5 separate regions of the Homo sapiens genome follow, and regions 1, 2, 3 and 4 are each linked to region 5. Evidence: promoter capture Hi-C in 16 types of primary human blood cells and fetal thymus (Javierre and others, 2016). All regions are on one chromosome and are shown on one strand. The core of a region is centred on a gene start or on the middle of the fragment in contact, and the rest is flanking DNA. Distances in the headings are between cores, read along the strand shown.

Region 1 (4,572 bases), core at 1,615-4,114, 510 kb after region 5:
CAGATTACTGTAGGTGTGGTTTTTCCTGTACAGAATACACTGGCAATATTACTTTTCTGTTGTTATCGCAGACACATTGAGTCATTACATACACATTCAAACTTACAGTTACCTTTTCACATGAGAAGTTCTCAAGACAGGTCAATACAGTGCTGTGCAATTTTGAGACTAAATACAAAAATATATGTTCCTAGTTTTTCTCCGTGTTCCTAAATTCTGTTTAGTATTTCAAAAAGTTGGAATCATTAAGAATGAACTCATATTGAAATAATAATCATACAATTATTAGATAATAAAGCACTAATGTACTCTGACAATTTTAGAGTAACTTAGAACCACATTCTTCAACCCACACACACCTCCTACAAGACCCATAAAGAGACTACACACTAGAATAAACCCCTCTACTAGAGAGACCTGTTATTTCTGATGAGAGTTTATTTTATGCTTGGTGTGATGGACACTAAAAAAATGCCTGTGAATCACTGGCAAAGTGGATCTGAGAAATCCAGGTGTCTGCACATTCTTTGAAATCATTGTGGAAAAAAGGATTTTTAAAATGCTTGCACGTTTGACAGTCAGGCAACGAGTCTATGTTGGAAATTAGAATGCCTGTAGGAGTCTGCCTTACGTCAGCTCTGTGTCTTTAATGCAAGCATCTTCAACTCTCCAATCATCAGTGTTCTTATCTGTAAAACGAGGGGAAGGAGATAAAGACAATGCACTGTTCAGAGATTCAGGAAGCCTGGTTCATAGTCTGTACTTTAGAAACTAGGAGTAAGTACAGGTTTTTCCTTTAGATCTTTTGTGCCTTTCGAACAGTATTGTCCTTATCCTATCTAATTCATAAGACTAAAGTTTGCTTAAATTATTTTTTTAAGAAAAGCAGCAAACATTTAAGAAAAGATTCTTTGCACTGTTACACTCAATGGCATCCTTCTACCTGAGATTTACAACACTCACTCCATGTAATTCCCACAGATAATCAGACAGGCACTCTTTTTCTCAATGCACTTGCATTTGGCATGGAGGGAATGGGACAGTCATTCCTCATTATACTTGTGCCTGAGATTTCCAGCCCAGGAGTTGCAGACAACTCTGCCTCAACTTTCTTAGATCCAGTTTACGTAAATCTTGTTTATGTCATATAAAGAACGTAAATTCAGTCAGACCACAATGAAATGTTCTGGCAACCCGGTCATTTGCATATGCACCAAATATTTAAAGTGCTACTATGAGGAGGAGTCAGTCTAGGTGCTCATCAGCATTTGACTTCTTACCTGTGAAATTCCTGCATAATTCCAAAAGACCTGGATTTTCATTAAGGGAATAGGAAGAGTGGAACAAACAAAGTGAGTCTAAGTACAGCAGAAGCTCCTAGATGATCCATTTTAATTGCCTAATTTTACTGAGGGATGTTGCATCATTTAGACAAAACCTTAACTATTAAATCCAATTATTTAATTTTCAAAGAGCTTCATAAAGTAATGTATTCATGTGTTCTATATGTTCTCACATTTCTCATATCTCCTCTCATCCATGCAATCTGAATGCCACCCACTCAAAACAGCATGTGACACACATCACTAAGTAGACATCAAGGAATACAATATACATAATTTTCATAAAAATTATCCAAATATCTAATTTTATTCCAAACTGTATTCCAACAAAAGATGATTATCTGTCACTTACAGAGAGCTGAATCTGTCAGGATAGCCATTCAGAGTAGTAGATAGAGAAGGTTATGTATAATTTAGTAAATCAAAAACTTACTGGCAAACTACAACAACTTTATGTAACTAAACAAGCGATGAAGAACTAAGACTTTTTAGAAGGTTGAAGGTGATATTTTGCTAGAAGGAAAAATGATTAGATTTAGTAGACTTAAATTCTCATCTAACTTATACCAAGAAGAAAACACACAAAGCAATTCATAGTCATTGGTACCCACAACAGGAAATCCTTCAACATCTAGGCCATCTGGATGCCAAAGTGCTGTCAGCATGTTACCCTGAAGATCCAGTATGCATAGATTTCTAATTTGGATTTATGAACTTGGCATGACTGAAGGTATCCTTAGCAACTGATGATGGAGTTAGGACAAAGAGAGACATGCAACAAGTTTATTAGGAGCTATTTTTGTAATATAACTCTGCAGAAGGAAGTATTATTAAGCCAAACAAATAAATGCCACCTTAGAAATCCTTGAAACAATTTGCATTGCCAGGACAAATTGCATAAATTCTCCAGCCTTCTAGAAACATGTAATAATGTCTATTTCTTATCTTTACAGGGAAATATTTAGCAACTAAACAGGTCTGAAAAACTAAAAATGCAGGAAGAAAGCAGCAGACCAGTAAAGAGTGCCGAATTATTCTGGGTGTTCTGCTTTTGAGATCCCTGGAGCGACAAGGGAGCGCCCAGATTGAAAAGAGGCATGAGTTTAAATAGTTTTCTTTGAGGGACATGGAATGAAGTGCTCTGGGAAAGAGCAAGTTTCTTCCTTTTGGATCTCAGGAGACTTTAATGAGACGGACTTATTACAGCTAATGAGAAGTGTATTGATGGGGTGGAAAACAGTGAACATTTAAGTGACATGGGCTTTGAGAACATGTTTCAACTCCTGTGCTTCAAAGTGTAAAACTGATTTCCTGAGTGTTTCATCAGAAAGTTCTGCCAGCAGCTCTTCCTCACAGAGAAATGTGGGAACAAATGTGGAAAGCCATTAAAAAGATAAAAAGTAGCTTTATTTCTATTATATTTTAATAACATAACATCTGTTATGTTTGTTGGTAGTTTAATAATTATTATTTTATTTGAGCATAAAGGTAACGCATACCCATCGGGAAAAACATAATACCAGATAGGGTTATCGAAAACACATCATAGAGATGATTATCCTTACAAAATTGCATTTATACTGTATGTGTTTGTTTGTGTGTATGTTCGTGGGTATGTGTGTGTATGTACCAGTAAACTACAAGAGCTTTATGTAACTAAACAAGAGGTAGAGAACCAACAGAGAGACACATGCAGAAACTTAAACACTATAAATAGATATGGCATTTACACAACAACATATATGTGTGTGTGATGAGTGTCTGTGGGTTAACATGTAATTCCACAATTTGCATTGTTCACAAAATACAACATAAAAAGTGCCCCGATGTGAAATATTCTCCCAAACGTAGCATGCACTATCCACAAAGTACTATACTTTATGGATATGCTCAATATTATTTAATTAATGCTCCATTTTTATAACATACATACAGTTTTAATTCAGGGGACTAAAAAATAATGTGCTGATTAAATCCTTATGTCTAATTTGAGTATAGATTTTGGAAGTTTTCTTCATCGACTTTTCCTCAGTCAATATTATTTAATTCATTTGTGTGAATATTTTTAAAGTTTTGATTTTGTTAAGTTGCACCTCAAAAATATTATCATTTTTTATATTATCAATTCACATCTATATATCAATCATTTCATCTATCTATAAATAAATAAACACAAACACACAGATCTGGAAATTCTGATGTAAAAGGACTAGATTTAATGTTTTCTGTTGTTTTTCCTAGAAAGGTTAATTAATTTTTTTAACTTCAACTTTTTTTTTTTTTTTTTTTGAGACAAGAGTCTCACTCTGTCTTGCCCAGGCTGGAGTGCAGTGGCATGATCTTGGCTCACTGCAGCCTCCACCTCCAGGGTTCAAGTGATTTTCCTGTCTCAGCCTCCCGAGTAGCTGGGACTACAGGCATACACCACCACGCCTGGCTAATCTTGTATTTTCAGTAGTGATGGGGTTTCACCATGTTGGACAGGCTGGCCTCGAGCTCCTGACCTCAGGTGATCCATATGCCTTGGCCTCCCAAAGTGTGGGAATTACAGGCATGCACCACTGCACTCGGCCAACTTTTATATTTTTACTATTCATTTATTTAACTTCTTTTGAAAAAATCATTTTATTTATTTATTTATTCATTCCACTTTATTTGAGATTCATGGCGTACATGTGCCTGAGTGTATTGTGTGATGCTGAGGTTTGGATTATAAATGATCCCATCACTCAAGTAGTGAGCATGGTACCCAGCAGTTTTTCAACACCTACCCCCTCCCTTCCTCCCACCTCTAGGATGTAATGGTTGCCATCTTTGTGGCCAGGTGTTCAATGTTTAGCTCCCATCTGTGAGTAGGAACATCCAGTATTTGGCTTTCTGTTCCTGTGGTAATTCACGTGGGATGATGGCTTCTGGCTCTATCCATATTGCTGCAAAGGACAGGATTTCATACTTTTTTAATGGCTTCATAGTATTTCGTGGTGTATATGTGCCACATTTTCTTTTTTTTTTTTTTTTTTGCCACATTTTCTTTATCCAATCTACCATTGATGGGCAACTAGGTTGATTCCATGTCTTGCTATTGTGAATAGCATGGTGTTGAATATATAAGTACATGGGTCTTTTTGGCATAATGATCTATTTTTCTTTGGGTATATACCCAGTAATGGGATTACTGGGTCAAATGGTAGCTCTGTTTTAAGTTCTTTGAAAAACCTACAAACTGTTT
Region 2 (4,232 bases), core at 1,391-3,890, 300 kb after region 5:
CGATTATAAATTCTAAATGTTGCCAGGCATTGGTTTATTCACTCCACAGTCAGGTGCCTGCTTTGTGCCCATTCCTATGCTGGTCACTGGGGGCACAGTAAGGACAAAAGAGAGGCAGAAAGATTTAAGACAATATCCTTTATCAGTCTGAATTAAATTGCATGTGTTATTAGATAACTAAAGATAGGAGAGACTGAAGAATTCAAAGCAAGGTTTACAGAAAAATGATGGAGATGAGGTTCTGATGTTTAAGAGAAATGATAAAAACAGCCAAATTTGGTCTCAGACATGTAACAATGGATAGGACAGAATATACAAGACAAGGCTGTAAAACATTGCGTCGCTTGGTGTCCTATGAAAGCTATGTAGCATATATAAAGGATCCAAAAGGTTTCAAATACATTTCAAAACTCATATCTGCCTAAAACACATAGGTAGCTAGGAATGGAAATACATTTACTTAAATATTTCGTTTTAGGCAACATCATATATCAAAAGTAAAAAGAAAGCTAAAGCAAAATAGAAAACATACAACATAATATCTACCAAAATTATGAAAAGTTGGTTCCCTTGAAATAAAGTTGAAATGAAATCTGATATTTCTTTGTAATAGAATTCAAATGCTACATGAGGGTCAAAGGAATCGGTATAAAGCAAAAACAGAAATCAATACTGAGGTGACAGATGTTAGAGAATAAATAGAAGATAAAAGTAAAATAAAAATATGTTAACAAATGAAGAGAAACAGCTTAAAAATAATGAAGGACCAGAAAAAGAGGCTTAAAAATCCTGAGGAAAATAAAGAGAGAGGTTAAAAAGTGTCAGTGGATTTGGAAACCAACAAAAAGGGTCAAACATAAATATTGTGGTTGAAAAATACATGTAAATGATTAGAATGAAAATGTACATGCAGATACTTTTTCAAAATGTGATATAGTATTTTCTATATCCAGATATGTCCCACAAAAATATGGTACTGTGTGTGTCTAAGTTAGAATTACTAGGAAATCTAGGCAAAATATCACAATATAGTGGTATTAGGCCGGTCTTTGAATTTTATTTATATTAAATGATAAAAAATAGAGCAATACTTAACAATATTTTAGTGGAATATCTTTTAAAAAACAAAGCCATTCTTTAAGATTTAAGAGAAAGGAAAAGTAGAATAGCCACATATATACATCACAATAAAACAGGTTGAGGACAAACCTTAACCCACCAAAGGATGCCTGGAGAAACTATAATGGAAAGGTTCCTGATAATATGTAAAAGCATTTAATAAAAACACATGAGAAAATGACTCTATATGAATAAGTAAATGAAGGTATGACTAAAATAGAAATGTAACAAACTGAGACAATATAGACTGTGATAACAATATAAAAAAATCTAGAAACTGGGGAGATGGATGTGGAAATGACTAATAAAGATGTCTCCTTCTACCAGTATTTACATGTCTTTTATTTTCTTTTATATCTTCACAAAATCCATACCTTCCTTGGCAGACCAACCTCTTTACAATTTATACTTGATGAATCAGTTAATACGGATATAATTATATGATTAAAGTATAGGGATATGCTAAAAGGTTTTAAGAGGAATAATGTAACTGAAAAACTAAAATTGAGTGCATGGTGGAGAGAGTGGCAAATGTGTAAATGTACTTAAATAGTAATTAGATTGTGGAAAAACTAGACATTTGAGCATATTATTTGAAATATAAGAGTAATCCAAAGATCTAAAAGAACAATGTGCTCTTCTGAGGTTGGAAAAAATGAATAAAATGAAAAAGTAAAAAATTTTAATTTTAAAAACCGAGCTCTCAAACACAAACACATAATTAACTATACATGGGGAGAAATAAAAAGTTAAAAAAGGAAGCATAGCAAAAATAAGGTGTCAGAAAAGAGACCAACCATTTCTAATTTCCATAAATTGAAATTGCATAATTTGCATAAATTGAACGGACAGACCTATTGAAAGAGAAAGGGTATTGAAGTAAAGGCAAAACCTAAATGTGTGTTGCAGAAGCCGAGGATACTGTAGTTGGCTTGCTTGTTTTCATCCCAACTTCTTCATATGTCTTTTGACTGGTAAAGCTGGAAAACTAAAATCTATGTATACAAACTCCATGGTATCTGAGATTCACCAGTAATTTAGGTTCTATTGATGAGGTGCACGTGAGGAGATTTAGATGGTAGAAGTGTGGAGGCCGCCTTGTTCTTTGGCTTTTTTCTTTTAGCACGGAGACGCTTTATTTTTCGTACAGCAGCTCACAGAATTGGGAGGTATGAACAATAGAACCAGCATAACAAGAATAATAAATCAACAAAGCTTGATAAAGGTCATATTGGGATTTTTGTACTATTTTAAGTGAAATCTACCTGTGTACCATGTAGAGACTTCCATCCAGCTGTCTTTGTCCAATTTGAAGAGTGTGATGATGCTTCACCACAGATATTGCACATGTTGTGAACCTTTAATTCTAGACCTGTATTTCTATGCTCGCTTTCTGGAGTAGGTTTCTTCTCACTCTGTTTTAGAATTGGTTTTTGCTGGCTTAGGGGAAACATACTGATTAATTAGTAGCCTACTCACTGAAATCTTACTAGGTTGCTTTTTATGGATTGTGTAGTTCCTGCTATGATTTATGGGAGATTTTGCATCTGAATCTTTTAACAACACTGTGTGGTAGAAATGATTATCGTCCCTACCAAGCCCTCTAGGGTCTGCCTTAGTCCACCTCTCCAGAAATCTTTGGCATTCTCCATCTCCCTCTCCAGGTGGAGCATATTGCACTTCCTCCCATTTTGGGACCACATCAAGATTATACAGTAACCAAACAGCATGGCACTTGTCCAAAAAACAGACACATAGAGCAACAGAATAGAGAACTCGGAAGCAAGGCCACAAACCAACAACCATCTGATCTTTGACAAAGCTTAAAACATAAGCAATGGGGAGAGGACTCCCTATTTAATAAATGGTACTGGGAAAACTGGCTACTCATATGCAAAAGATTAGAACTGGACCACTTCCTCACACCATTTACAAAAATCAACTCAAGATGAATTAAAGACTTAAATGCAAAATCCAAACCTCTAGAAACCCCAGAAGACAACCCAGGCAATACCTTTCAGCATATAAGAATGGGCAAAGATTTCATGATGAAGATGCCAAAAGCAAAAACTGACAAATGGAATCTAACTAAGGAGCTTCTGCACAGCAAAAGAAACTATCAACAGAATAAACAGACAACTTACAGAATGGGAGAAAATATTTACAAACTATGCATCTGACAAAGGTCTAATGTCCAGTATCTATAGGAAACTTAAATTTACAAGAAAAAAATTAAAAAGTAGGCAAAGGACATGTACAGACACTTTTCAAAAGAAGATATTCTTGTGGCCAAGAAGCATATGAGAAAAATCTCAACATCTGTGATCATTAGAGAAATGAAAATCAAACCCACATTGGGAAGCCATCTTACACCTGTCAGCGTGACTATTATCAAAAAGTCAAAAAATAACATGTTGATGAGATTGCAGAGAAAAGGGAACATATGCACTGGTGGTGGGAGTGTAAATTAGTTCAATCATTGTGAATAACACTATGGCAATTCCTCAAAGATATAAAGACAGAACTAGCATTCGACTCAGCAGTCTCATTACTTGGTATATACCCAAAAGAACATAAATTGTTCTATCATAAGGACACATACTTGCATGTGTTCATAACAGCACTGTTCATAATAGCAAAGACATAGAGTCGACCTAAACGCCCATCAATGGTAGACTGGATAAAGAAAATGTGATACATATATATCATGCGATACTATGCAGTCATGAAAAGAATGAGATCATGTTGTTTGCAGAAACATGGACGAAGTTGGAGGCTATCATTCTTAGCAAACTAACACAGGAACAGAAAACCAAATATTGCATGTTCTCACTTGTAAGTGGGAGCTAAATGATGAGGACACAAAGGGGAACAACAGACACTGGATCCCACTAGAGGATGGAGGGTGGGAGGAAAGAGAGAAGCAGAAAAAAACAGCTACTGTTGGTCAGGCACAGTGGCTCACACCTGTAATCCCAGCATTTTGGGAGGCCAAGGCGGGGTGGATCGCTTGAGGTCAGGAATTCAAGAACAGCCTGGCCAACATGGTGAAACCAAGTTTCTACTAAAATACAAAAATTAGCTGGACGTGGTGGCACAGCCTGTAATGCCAG
Region 3 (4,635 bases), core at 1,694-4,193, 490 kb after region 5:
CTAAGTTAAGTCTCTGACTTAGACTTATTGCCGGGGGTTCATCAAAACTATACAAATTAATTACCCAGTGCTATACCATCTTTTTACAGTTTTCAATTAAGTCATAAACTCCACTATCACCACCTCCAGCCTGATGATTAGATCTCACCTAAAAAACTCCCTCCAGCCTCATTGAAAAGGGTCTTTATCAAATATTGTTACTAACCTTTTTGCTCTTAAGTTTCAGGTATTTGACTTCTGGGTACACATATCTCATTTAAAAAGGAGCACTGACTCCTACTGAATCTTAAATGTCAATGCTGACATTGAAGCGAGAAATTTTCCCTGAGTCCTTTGTGGGCAGGAACTGGAGTGCACGGTGCCAGCAGGTGCAAACTCTGTTCACTCAAACCTGCTGTGATCAACCCATCACGGGAGGAAGCATGCAGCTGAGCAGGTGCAGGAGCTGGGGCTAGCACTTTTGGGTGCCGGCAGGAACGAACTTCATTCTGGCCCCATGGCAGCGTCTAGGGGAGTGCCTGTGACCCCCAAAGCCCCAGAAGGAGTGTTACAGTCAGTGCCCTTTTAGCTTTGACATCCACAGATGGCTTAAGTGTTAACAGCTTAGTGGAGGGTAAATGTGACAGCCTTTTGCACCTGCACCCAAGTTCTTGTCTGACATCCAAGAGGAATGAGGTTGCAGGAACAAATTGGAGATGGTAAATGCGGGGATTTCATTGCTGATGAAAGTGGGTCTCAGTGGGAAGGGGAGCAGAAAAGGGAATGGATTGGGAAGGTAAGCTTCCCCTAAAGCTCTGAAGCTATACCATCAAGCTGTCTCTCTGAAATGAAGCCAATTTGCTCCAACATCCAGGCATAGTCACTGATGTCCTGCTGCTTCTCTTCTTTGCCAGCTGAGCCTGGGATTTTATGGGCACAGGATGATGGTGGGGACAGGCCATTGGTAGTTTTAGAAAAGGCAACATTAGAGTGGGAAACAGGAATGTATGTTCTCACTCTGGGCCACAGTTCCAGGTTTGAGGGTGGGGCCCTCACCCACCCTCTTCGGCCCAGAATTTTTCTGCTTCCTGTCGCTATCAGTATCTGACATCAAATGTAAGTTAACCAAAGCCTCATCTTCAGAGCTGGGAGAAGATGAGAGTGAAAAAAACTGCTTTTGTATGACACTAAACCAGGCTTGTATACAAAGGCATGAATACTCATTTAATAATTTTTTCTCTATCTAAATTAATATAATTTGTTCTATGCCTTAATGTTAGATAATAAATGCTAGCTACCTGTGAGTTTCCGTCTTCTGTCAGAGCAAGGCAGGAATTAAGCTCTTTTTCTTTAAAATGTTGCTGATTCCTTACATTTTGTTTTCCAGAGTAAAAAAAGAAATGCCTTTTCCTTTTGAGCTATATGTAGCTTACAAAATTGGTAAAACACAGATAGATTACCTTTGTCTCTCTACCTAATATCTGCCAAATGTAAAACCTGCTTAGACTCTCACTGGGCCTGATCTGTCTTCATTGCTAACACCTTGCTACTAAGGCTACATAGGCACCTTCCCTCTAGACCCAGGGGCTACTGTGGAAGAGGTGGGCAGGTGAGCTTGTAAGGGATTAATTTCAGAGACAGAATTATTTCAGAGCCTCCAAATCAAGGACAGACATCCAGATGCCTAAACAGCTGGCAAGGTAGGGGCCTTTTCCTCCTGGGCTATTACATGGCTGCTTTCCATCCATCCCAACTATAAAGAATTTTATGCTTGTCCCAGGATTAAAAGAAAATTACCAAGAGCATAACAAGAAACCTCGTCACAAAGCCTCCTGGATATACTGCTCCTAGCTGTGAGATTTATGCAGATATATGTAACTTTTTAAATCAGCCACCTCAGGACAAATGATGAAAAAGACCACGAAAAAGCACTGCAGCACAAAACAAGCCTCTGTGTTCTTTAGCTTAAATGGTTTCAACAAAATGCTTTTGTTATTTACAGCTAATTGCTAGAAGTCTGTAACAAAAATCAAGATTATTGTATTGCTCAATGCACAGAATGTATTGATAAGTCAATTTTGTAACCTTATCTTTTGGTTTTGGGCTCTTATATTGCTTAAAGATCTTAACGGCTGATAAATGCCTGCCCATCTCCATTCTCATCCAGCCCTACAACATTTAAATTTGCTATAAGTCTTTTGGCTCTAAGCCCCTTGGCCATACGGATCCCACCAAAGAACATGATGCACCTGGGGCAGATAGCCATAGCCACACACTCTGGCAACAATAGAGGACAAATAAAACTTTGGCCATCAATGTTGCCTCTGGAAAATCTTGACCTGAGGGAGAATAATGTAAACCAAAAATAAAAGTCTAAGCCCCCACCCCAACTGACACTCTCCTGGTTAAGGAGATCGCAAAGAAACCAAACAACTAGAAGAGAGTTCAGACATGACTCTTTCTACCCCCTCTCTTTGGAGTTTAGGCACAACTGAGCAACAGTAATGTTAAAATAGAGGTCCTGAGGCTGACAAAACAGACTCTCTGCAGCAACAAGATACCAAATTCTAACCTCACTCTGGCATAGTATCATATGACAGATAGCAGGTCCTGAAGAAAATCAAGATCTTTTACCCCAAAATATATTTTTGACACATTTTAGAATGGTCCTGCAAAGCCATTTCCTGTGGGGGAAATTTGCATTCTCTAGAGAATCTCCTTCCGTTTCTGGGTCTTTTATGGACCCAGAAGATACTTAACTAAGAGTCTTACACATTTTACAATCTATTCCCTCTGCAGCCTGCTACTTAGAGGCTTCGTCTATATAACAAGAACTGTGGTTTTGAAAACCATCTTACCCTAACTGAAGCATTTCTTTCTACTGATTTCTTAAGTCTTTAGACAAGGATTGACTCTTTCAACGAACTGCTGATAATAAAATCTTTGAATCCACCTATGACCTATAAGTTGTCACTTCAAGAAGTCCCGCCTTTCCGTGCCAAACCAACATACATCTTACATGCATTGATTTATGTCTTTGCCTCTAATTTCTGTCTTCTCCTTAAAATGTATATTGCCTGTAATTTCTGTCATCTTAAAATGTATAAAACCAAGCTGTCACCTGACCAATTTTGGTAAGATTATTCTTGGGATTTCTTGAGGCTGTGTTACAGGCCATGATCACTCATATCTGGCTCAAAATAAACCTCTTCAAATATTTTAGAGAGTTTGGCTTTTGTCAACAGCATATATATATACACACACACACACACACATATATATACATATATAAAAATATATATAACATACATATATATTATATGTAATATACATAATAAATATAAAAATACATACACATATATGTATATGTACATATACATATATAAAAAATATTCCCTTAACCCCATGTCACTATCCATGTATAACTTTATATTTGTTCCATTATTCAGAGCAAACTTTTGTGATTTTCTTCAATTTTTGAGCCTCCTTTCTCCTTAGTCTACTTCACAAGATATTCTGTCCAATCACTCCATCGAAGCCCCTCTGTGAAGGATAGGAACGACTGTTATCTTGCACTCTCAGGCAATCAACTTTCTGTTTCACATTACTTAAACTTTACCCAAAAACTCACATGTAGACCCCTCCCTTCTATTAAAAAGACTGTCTTTTCTAAGTTTCTACCACACCACACTCCTCTGGGTGCTCCACATCTTTTTTATCCCTTTCTTGTCACTTTTTTTGTGGTCTAGTATTTAAATATTGAAATTCTCTTGTCCTATTCTTTAATTCTGTTAACACATAATCTGCGTATCAATAATTCTGAAACCTGTCTTCACATCTACCACCTAAAATGATATCTAGACTAAAATATCTAGCTGCTTGACATTTTTATTTAGATATTCAATAGACATTTCAAACTTAACATACTCATAATAAAGCTCTTAATCTTATACACACACCCCACATTCCCCTGCAGATGACCGTGCTCATAAGAAAGAATATTGATGCATAAAATCATTGGATTGAGGTAAAACAGAGCTTTTTGGGGTTTTTTTCTGTGTTTTCTTTATTTTTATTATTATACTTTAAGTTTTAGGGTACATGTGCACAATGTGCAGGTTAGTTACATATGTATACATGTGCCATGTTGGTGTGCTGCACCCAGTAACTCTTCATTTAACATTAGGTATATCTCCAAATGCTATCCCTCTCCCCCCGACCCCACAACAGGCCCTGGTGTGTGATGTTCCCCTTCCTGTGTCCATGTGTTCTCATTGTTCAATTCCCACCTATGAGTGAGAACATGCGGCGTTTGGCTTTTTGTCCTTGAAATAGTTTGCTGAGAATGATGGTTTCCAGCTTCATCCATGTCCCTACAAAGGACATGAACTCATCATTTTTTATGGCTGCATAGTATTCCATGGTGTATATGTGCCACATTTTCTTAATCCAGTCTATCATTGTTGGACATTTGGGTTGGTTCCAAGTCTTTGCTATTGTGAATAGTGCCCCAATAAACATATGTGTGCATGTGTCTTTATAGCAGCATGATTTATAATCCTTTGGGTATATACCCAGTAATGGGATTGCTGGGTCAAATGGTATTTCAAACAGAGCTTTTTGAAAATGTTAAAGTTTTGAAAACATTACCCAAAG
Region 4 (4,456 bases), core at 1,284-3,783, 280 kb after region 5:
CCACAATAAATGGTGGTGAATTGAACAGAACTGAGTATGAATGGGTGGAGGTTCAGCATGACACAGCTACTCACAGGGAATAGACTCTAACACTTAGCATCAAAGAACATGACTGCCACTTTCCTTGAGGATGTATTAACAGGATACCAGGTTCGTTAACATCCATGGCCAGAAACTTCCCTTTTCCAAGTTCTGTGATTCAACAGCAACACTTAAGGCACTTTGAGACTGACTGAGTGGGGTGGGAAGTCCCTGGAGTTTTCCATGCGGGTGTTACATGATAACAGACACGTTTTTAAAGCATCACTATGCCTACAGTGTAGGAAAATAGAACAAAGGGCAAACATGGATACAGGAAGACAATTGAGGTTTCAGAGATGAGAAACAAGGATGGCTTGTGTAGGGTGTGGACACAAAGGATTTGGCTCATGGATTTGGCGTGTGTTAGCAACAGGTGTAGAGTGAAGGATAACTTATTGGTTTGGGCCCAAGTGAATAAAAAAATGGAATATTGATATTTGGAAAACTTGTCGGTAGCAGAAGTCAAGAATTCACTTAAGATAATTTGGAAATATCTATTAGGTATTTAAGCTAGGCCGGGTGCAGTAGCTCATACCTGTACTCCCAGCACTTTAGTGGAGACCAAGGAGGGTGGATTGCTTGAGCTCAGGAGTTTGAGACCAGCCTGCCAACATAGCAAAACCCCATCTACCAAAAACACAAATATCAGTTGGATGTGGTGGCACATGCCTGTAGTCCCAGCTACTTGGGAGGCTGAGGTGGGAGGATCACGGGAGGCTGAGAAGTTGAGGCTGCAGTGAGCCGTGATGGCACCACTGTGCTCCAGCCTGACTGGCAGAGAGGCCTTGTCTCAAGATAAATACATAAATACAGAAAGATATTGAAGCTATATGTAAAGTCAATTGTACTTCAGATTAGAGTTCTGAACATAAAGCATACATTTAATAATCAGAGTACGAAGAGCATTTAAAAACAGGTTTTTTGAGAGTTTTCTTAAGAGAAAGCTTGAGACTGAGATCTGAGGCAGCTGGCGTCACATGAAAAATTAGAAAGATAGGGTTTTATGAGGTTAGAAGAAATCTAAGACAAAGTGTTTAAAGAAAGTAAAAGCAACTGCAACAAGTGCAGTCTATGGTTGAAATAAGTGAGATTTGGTTACTGTATTTAGCAACATGAAAGGTTACTTGTAACCTTAGTGACCATTTTTAATGGAGATATGCTTAGAGATGATTCAGGGTAAAATCAAGGGGGAGGAAGTGGATAAGGTAAGTTGAGTATGAATTTTTAGATTTTTTTGTAAAGGAAATGGAGTATAACTAGAAAAACGTGATACCAATGTGTTTGATGTTAATGGTGCTGTCATGTGATATTGAGTATGAAGTTCAAAGGAATAATTCAGTACAAAAAGAAAATCGATATATGAGAAATGGAGGAAAGTTTCAGAAAGATGGCCTTTGAGAGTGGCCGAAAGCACAGAAACCAGTTTAGAAGTGGAGAGTTTGAACTTTTGTAAGAGCATGGCCAACTCAGTGACAATAGCAGGAGGTCAGGCAGAGCGTGTGTTATAACTAAGATCCCTTCCGATGGTTTGTATCTTCTCGGTGCAGTTAGAATCAATGAGAGCGTCTATGAGTAAAGATCAGGGTGGTCCCGTCAAAAGTTTGAGAGGAGAAGAGAATCATCTTGGAGAAGAGGTAAGTTAATAAGCTAGTAGAGACATCTGGGTTGTAGGACAACCTTCGGACTCCCCCTCCTTTGCATTGAATTTATGAATTTAGCACAGCACATTTGTCAGACGATTCATGATGTGTGTTCGGGATGGTGGCCAGAAAATAGTAGGCACTCAATATGTTAACTAGAATTATGTTAAAAACAAGGACAAAATAACAGCAGCAACTGCTGTTACTACTACAAACTTATTCCTTTGTGAATAAAGTGTGTCATATTTATGCTTTTCCAAGGCATATAATTTGCAGTATGTAATAGATGTTCAGTAGCTGTTTATTTCAATAAATTTGTCTCTTTGGGCAATTAAAAGTTGTATAGGCAGAATTCTTCATGGTGTGGAGTTTCTTGTATAATATGGCATGATTTTGCATTATAAGGTGACACTGTCACTTCATTTCAAAATGTTAATTATTTACGTTTAGAAGTTAAATTCCACCCTACTCCTAAAACATTCTCTCTGTAATCTTGGCTTTGGTGGTGGCTTCTCTGGTGATGGGTTCCCATTTAGCGTGGGAAAATGTCCCTGCTCTGAGTGTCCTAGTTGTAGTTGGCACCAAGAGGAGATGGGCACACAGATTTCACTAAAATACTGTGTGATACCAGCATATATGCCCAGCAACAGATTGTTCAGATGTTGAACAGCTTTTTATAAGGTTTTTTCCCCATGAATATTTAACTGTTCTTTAATTATTTCCACCCCATCTGCCAATTTCAAAGGCAATTTAAGGGTGATAAGGCCATATGCTTGGAGCTTGAACCCCCTGGAGTCTGAATATTAGCCTATTTCTTTCTGGGCTGTGTGCCCTGAGCATGTTACCTAACCTCTCTGTGCCATAGTTTACTATCTTGCTCAGAGTCTATCATAGTTGAAGAATGAGGAAGAGGCTTCTTAGAGCAGATATTTTCTAAGCCTACAACTGTTGCTCCTTCAGGCCATGGGGGCTCTGCCTGAGTGATCTAGCCAAGCCGTCTTCTGTGGGTTCCCTGGGCAAAGCTCTCATCAGGAGTTCCTTGATTCGTTGAATAGCTTCTACCTCAGGTACTGCACTGAGACATTTGCGATTGCGTCTAAGATGGTTATATATCTCCCCACTTTCTCTTGGCTTGCTGATCTATCTGTACAGGAAGAAGAAATCTATACATGAATATGAAGTCCCAAGTGATTGTTACTATGGGACACCATGACATCCTCCTCCTGACACCTTGTGGCCAGTTAGTAATATGACATTATCCTAAAACAACACCATGTGTTCTCTATTCTTTAAAACTGCATGTATCATTAGGAGAATAAAAAAAAAAAAATGAATAATATCGGTACCTTTGGACTGATGGTGACATCATTTTTGTTATTAAACATTTTCTGCATTTTAGCAGTTATTTTTACTCTGTAATCCCTCCAGAATCAATTGGAAAAAATACAATGAATTGTATAAAAACCTTGAATCTATGATTATTTATTGCCAAATAATTTGCCAAAAAGTTTGTTTCTCCATATATATTTCTGTAATTATAGATAGAATTTAATAGCTTTAAATATTATAGTTAATATCCCTCACTTTATTTGGTAAAACTTGAAAAGTTACTGAATTTGCTACAACATAGAGGAAAGAAGTCTTTGCTTGGGGATATTTAATTCCAGCCACTTTGTAATTTTAGGGAGTGAATTGAATCACCACTTAATGACGCAGGCAACAGCAGGGCTTCTAAGAAAATCACATTATAAATCAGCGTTAATCTCTTCTTATACTATGAAATATAACACTAGAAATGCCATGCAAAACTCATTATTAATCATCTCAAGAAAACAGTTGTGAAACCATTCATGAAATAACCCCGCACCCCATCAAGAAACGGAACATAACCAGCACTCCAGGGCGCTCTTGTTTGATCACCGCACATGCCCCAGGGCAAAAACAGGCATTATTCTAAATGTCTCTAACTTTCATTTGAACTATTAGACATGCAAAAATGTGCAAAATTAGCACAATGAGCTTCCAATGTGGCCGTCACTCAATTTCTCTTAATGCTGACATTATTTTGAAACAGTTTTGCTCTTGCTGCCCACGCTGGAGTGCAATGGCATGATCTCAGCTCAGTGTAACCTCCCCTCCTGGGTTCAAGTGATTCTCCTGCCACAGCCTCTCAAGTAGCTGGGATTACAGGCACCCACCACCATGCCTGGCTAATTTTTTGTATTTTTAGTAGAGACAGGGTTTCACCATATTGGCCAGGCTGGTCTTGAACTCTTCTGTCTGCTCAATTGCACACTGATAATGTTGATGACAAGCTTCTTTCCAGGAGCAGAAGAAAGACCGGATGAGACAAATCATTCCTCCACCTACCCAGGGACTTCTGCATAATTGACTCTTCCTTGGCTCCTTCTATCTCTTCAGACATTCACCTTATCCTGTGTAAAATGTACATTTACTGGGCACTAACTGAAGTCTCACAGAAACGTAACCATTGACCTTACCACCAACCCGCCCGTCTTCCTATATGCCTTCCCCCACCTTAAGAAAATATATACGTACTGAGTGTTCTAAAAACCTCTTTGGAAAAATGGCCATGGGTGTGTCTGTGGCTTATTTTTCTAGACATACTCTAATATTGGCTTAATGAAACTTGACTGAGCAATTCTCACTCATTTCAGTTAAGTTTCTAACATTTCTTTAGTTGGGCCTTGACAGCGAAGAATATTGGTCAGTTA
Region 5 (4,168 bases), core at 1,491-3,990:
TATCAAAACCCGTAAAACGGAAACTGATCTAGTCAGGGAGGTCAGAGAATATCTCCCTGAGGAAAAGACAAAATGATGGAGAGCTGCAGAAAGAGTAACAATTCCCTCAGCAGGCAGGGAATAGCACCCCAGGCAAAAGGCACAGCACAGGAGAAGCAAAGCAGTGACGCCAGAGTAAGGAATCTGCGGGACAGGGTACAAGAGGCTGTACCAGCCCTGCAGAGACTTGAAGACCCTGTTAAGGAGGCCTGTCTTTATAAGAGCTATGGGAAGTTTAAAAAAAAAAAAAATACAGGAAGAGCATAACAGAAGGAAGGGTGTATGTTAACAAGCTTATTCTGGGTGCAGTATGGACAACTGAGTATGCAGGCCCCAACATAGATGCAGGGAGATGGACAAAAAGGCTACGGCAAAAGGGTGGGGCCTATGGAGAGAAATGGACACACTTAAGGAGGACTTAAAATGTAAAACCATCAAGCCTGGATAATTGGTTGAGGGGGTAGGGCAGGGGAGAAAGCTGATCGGGGAAGCCTCCTAGATTTCAGGCACCCTATGGCTGGTGCACAGAGGTGCCATTCACTAAGCCTAGCAGCACTGGGAGGAAGAGCAGAGGGTGGTCACGAGCTGCCCAGAGGTCCAACTGGGCATTCTCAACTGAACTGGCCCAGGCACTCAACAAAGAAAAAGCAACTTGGTGTGAGACCTGGAGCTCCCCAGGCCACTCTAAAGGGTCCTAGGGGATTGGGAGGTGGGAGAGCTGCTGTTTAAAATGTAAATTTCTCCAAGGAAAGACAGGACAACTAAATGCTGTCTTGGAACCTAAATTACAAAATGGAAATAGGTGAGAGTAAAGAAATTCGAATAAGGCCTGTAGGTGTTAATATCCTGGTTTTGTTGACTGTTTTGTAAAATAAGATGTTAACCCCTAGGAAATCCAGACGAACCGTACATGGGAATTTTTGCTTGTTTCACAACACTCTGAAACTCTGAAATTAATTCAAGATAAAAATTATTCAAAAGACATTTTATAGATGTAAATGCCCCAAAGCTGAGCCAGGTGCCTAACTGTAGGGAAAAGAAAGAGAAGTCAGACTGCTACTGTGTCTATGTAGAAAGGGAAGACATAAGAAATTCCATTTTGACCTGTACCTTGAACAATTGCTTTGCCCTGAGATGCTCTTAATCTGTAACTTTGCCCCAACCTCTTTGCTCCAACCTTGACCTCACAAAAACATGTGTTGTATGGAATCAAGGTTTAAGGGGTCTAGGGCTGTGCAGGACATGTCTTGTTAACAAAATGTTTACAAGCAGTATGCTTGGTAAAAGTCATCACCATTCTCTAGTCTCAATAAACAAGGGGCGCAATGCACCATGAAAAGCCACAGGGACCTCTGCCCTGGAAAGCCGGGTATTGTCCAAGGTTTCTCCCCATGTGATAGTCTGAAATACAGCCTCGTGGGAAGAGAAAGACCTTACCGTCCCCCAGCCCGACACCCGTCTGTGCTGAGGTGGATTAGTAAAAGAGGAAAGCCTCTTGCAGTTGAGATAGATGAAGGCCACTGTGTCCTGCCTGCCCCTGGGAACTGAATGTCTCCGTACAAAACCTGATTGTACATTTGTTCAATTCTGAGATAGGAGAAAAACTGCCCTATGGCAGGAGGCAAGACATGTTGGCAGCAATGCTGCCCTGTTATTCTTTATTCCACTGAAATGTTTGGGCAGAGAGAAACATAAATGTGGCCTACGTGCACATCCAGGCATAGTACCTCCACTTGAACTTATGACATAAATTCTTTTGCTCACATGTTTCTTTGCTGACCTCCTTATCACCCTGCTCTCCTACCGCATTCCTCTTGCTGAGATAATGAAAACAATAATCAATAAAAACTGAGGGAACTCAGAGACCGGTGCTGGTGCAAGTCCTTGGTATGCTGAGTGCCGGTCCCCTGGGCCCACTGTGGTTTCTCTATACTTTGTCTCTGTGTCTTATTTCTTTTCTCAGTCTCTCCTCCCACCTGACAAGATATCCCACAGGTGTGGAAGGGCAGGCCACCCCTTCACCCAACAGCTCAGAATGGCTTTTGTGGGATACGGAAGAACCCTCCCTTCTCTTCACCTCACTAGCAAAAGAGAAAGAAGGGCAAACAAAGACCCTCAGAAACCTCAGCAGCTTCCCAGGCAGACGCAGTTAAAAACGACCCGCCCCCAGCGCGCCCCGGCACAGAGCCACCCCGCCCCAGGATGTGACGTGGCATTCGCAGTCCCGCCGCCAGCCTCAGGCCGCCCGCCTCCTTCGTCCCGCCCACCCCGCCCGAGCCTGCCCTGGTCCCTCCCACCCCGCCCTGAATCCATCCCTCTTTAGCCCGACCCCGCCCTGGTCCCCACCCACCCCGCTCCGCCTCCCGCTCAGCCGGCCCGGCCTCCGGCCTCGCACCCCAACCCGCAGAAGGAGCGCCCCCTTGCGGCCCTCGGAATCCCATTGTTCCTGTCCTGGTCCCGCCAGCCCACCGTCGGCGCGCAGTGGTGAGGACGAACTCCTCGGATGCCGCCGTTGAGAAAACGCAACATCAACGCCAACCACTCCTGTACTCAAGCGAAGCCCTGCCTGCAGCGCGAGCACACTGAGGCCTACCTGCCCTACCCCAGACGGAGACTCGCGAGCCCGAACCGGACCATGAGCCGCGCCGAATCGGAGCGCTGCGCCTGCGTTGGCGTCGGGCGTCGCGGCCGCGCAACGTCCGGCACCAGAGGGCTCGCTGCACCTCGGCCGGCCTTCCATGCCACGCCCCCGGGCCAGGCCACGCCCCGGCCCGAGCGACCATCGAGACTCCAGGACCTCCGCGGCGCCTAGAGGGATCCCGAAAACGCCTGCGAGGCCAGAACGGCCGAAATAACCCACCCCAGCGGGCCAGCTCTTCCCGCCACTCTCCCTTACCCTCCCACCCCTGTCCTACTTTGGAAACCTTCCTCGCTCCTTCCTAATCAGGAGAGCATGGGGACTTTCTAGGGTAGTGGTTCTCAAATGTGCCCCCAATCTAACAGCAGCTTCACCTGGGAAATCGATGGAAATGCAAATCTTGGGACCCCACTACAGGCCTTCTGAGTAAGAAACTCTGAGGGTGTGCCCAATAATCGGCCTTACCAACCCTGAAGGTAATTGTGGTACAAACTAGGGCTTGAGAACCACTGCTGTATGGCAGGGTTTCTCAACCTCCACTCTTGACATTTTGGGCCTGGATAATTCTTTGTTGAGAGGGAAGGAGGCTGTCCTGTGCATTATAGGAGGCAGGGTCACGGATAAAATACAGTTAAATTTGAGTTTCAGGTAACAGTGTTGTTCATCTAAGATTCACATTTAACTGGAAGTCCCTGTATTTCATCTGGCTACCTTGCCTACCTATATTTTTACTTGGTAAAAATAGAACCTTAATTGTAGGATATTGAGCATCCCTAGCAACTAAATGCCAGTAGCACACCACACTCTCTCCACTCTAGTTATGACAAATAAAAGTATCTCCCCCTACTTCTTGAGAATCACGGCTCTATAAGGACTTTGTCCAGCTGAAACCCAGTAGCCCATTAGGTATATAGGACAGTGTACTCCGCAGAAAACTGCCTTGCCCTGAAAGGCTTTGAACACAGAAATCCCTGGGACCAAACCGTGTTAACATTCAAAAAGAGGGCCACTTAGTGAAGAGTTTGTATTTGCTTCTCCACACTGACACTTCACAAAGGTTTTTTGGTCACTGTAAAGTGTGTTCCAAAACCCCTGGATCAGAAGAAAAAAATCATGCTCATTTGTGAGATTCTGAAGTGAAGGGCACGTATTAGTTTGTCATTCATTCCACATATGAGCAAATTGAGAAAACAGGCAATAAGCCATGGGAAAATGGGAGTGCTACTCTAGGTAAGGTAGGGTGGTGTTTCTAACTTGCTTTGTTCCCCAGATCCTGTGTCTCATTCATTCATTCAAGTGTTAAATGAGTGTCTTCTCTGTGACAATCACTCCTCTGAGCAGTGATGTTAGAACAGTGAAAAAGAAAAGGCACAAGAGAAAAACCCTCTTGTCATTTCAGTGGGAGAACCAGACAGTAAACAAAATATATGGCATGTCAAAGTGGAAAGTGCTAGGAAGAAAATAAAGGAAGCAAAGGGGACCAATAAGACT

Evidence for each region. The method cuts DNA at HindIII sites, captures the fragments that hold promoters and counts their contacts. A CHiCAGO score of 5 or more calls a contact.
Region 1: a fragment that was not itself captured here is called in contact with the fragment with the promoter of PGBD2 in region 5 in 1 of 17 cell types (total CD4 T cells); the score reaches 5.5 in total CD4 T cells.
Region 2: a fragment that was not itself captured here is called in contact with the fragment with the promoter of PGBD2 in region 5 in 4 of 17 cell types (total B cells, activated CD4 T cells, naive B cells and 1 more); the score reaches 8.1 in total B cells.
Region 3: a fragment that was not itself captured here is called in contact with the fragment with the promoter of PGBD2 in region 5 in 6 of 17 cell types (naive CD8 T cells, non-activated CD4 T cells, total CD4 T cells and 3 more); the score reaches 10.6 in naive CD8 T cells.
Region 4: a fragment that was not itself captured here is called in contact with the fragment with the promoter of PGBD2 in region 5 in 6 of 17 cell types (naive B cells, total B cells, M2 macrophages and 3 more); the score reaches 14.1 in naive B cells.

Annotation. Positions count from the first base shown.
Region 1 is chr1:248,397,769-248,402,340 of GRCh38, reverse strand. No RefSeq gene overlaps it. Among named protein-coding and RNA genes, the nearest start is that of OR2T1, 3.0 kb to the left of the region's middle. RefSeq lists a silencer at 1,887-2,087. The HindIII fragment of the contact is 7,230 bases long and covers 1-4,572 here.
Region 2 is chr1:248,605,215-248,609,446 of GRCh38, reverse strand. No RefSeq gene overlaps it. Among named protein-coding and RNA genes, the nearest start is that of OR2T10, 9.6 kb to the right of the region's middle. The HindIII fragment of the contact is 607 bases long and covers 2,337-2,943 here.
Region 3 is chr1:248,414,494-248,419,128 of GRCh38, reverse strand. No RefSeq gene overlaps it. Among named protein-coding and RNA genes, the nearest start is that of OR2T1, 14 kb to the right of the region's middle. The HindIII fragment of the contact is 4,322 bases long and covers 783-4,635 here.
Region 4 is chr1:248,621,166-248,625,621 of GRCh38, reverse strand. OR2T11 (olfactory receptor family 2 subfamily T member 11) reads left to right here. Exons shown (of 2, transcript NM_001001964.2): 2 at 1-2,065. Among named protein-coding and RNA genes, the nearest start is that of OR2T11, 12 kb to the left of the region's middle. The HindIII fragment of the contact is 3,011 bases long and covers 1,028-4,038 here.
Region 5 is chr1:248,904,807-248,908,974 of GRCh38, reverse strand. It overlaps PGBD2 (piggyBac transposable element derived 2), which reads right to left and starts at 2,740. Exons shown (of 3, transcript NM_170725.3): 1 at 2,633-2,740. RefSeq lists silencers at 2,295-2,384, 2,795-2,854 and enhancers at 2,475-2,664, 2,189-3,110. The HindIII fragment of the contact is 4,441 bases long and covers 335-4,168 here.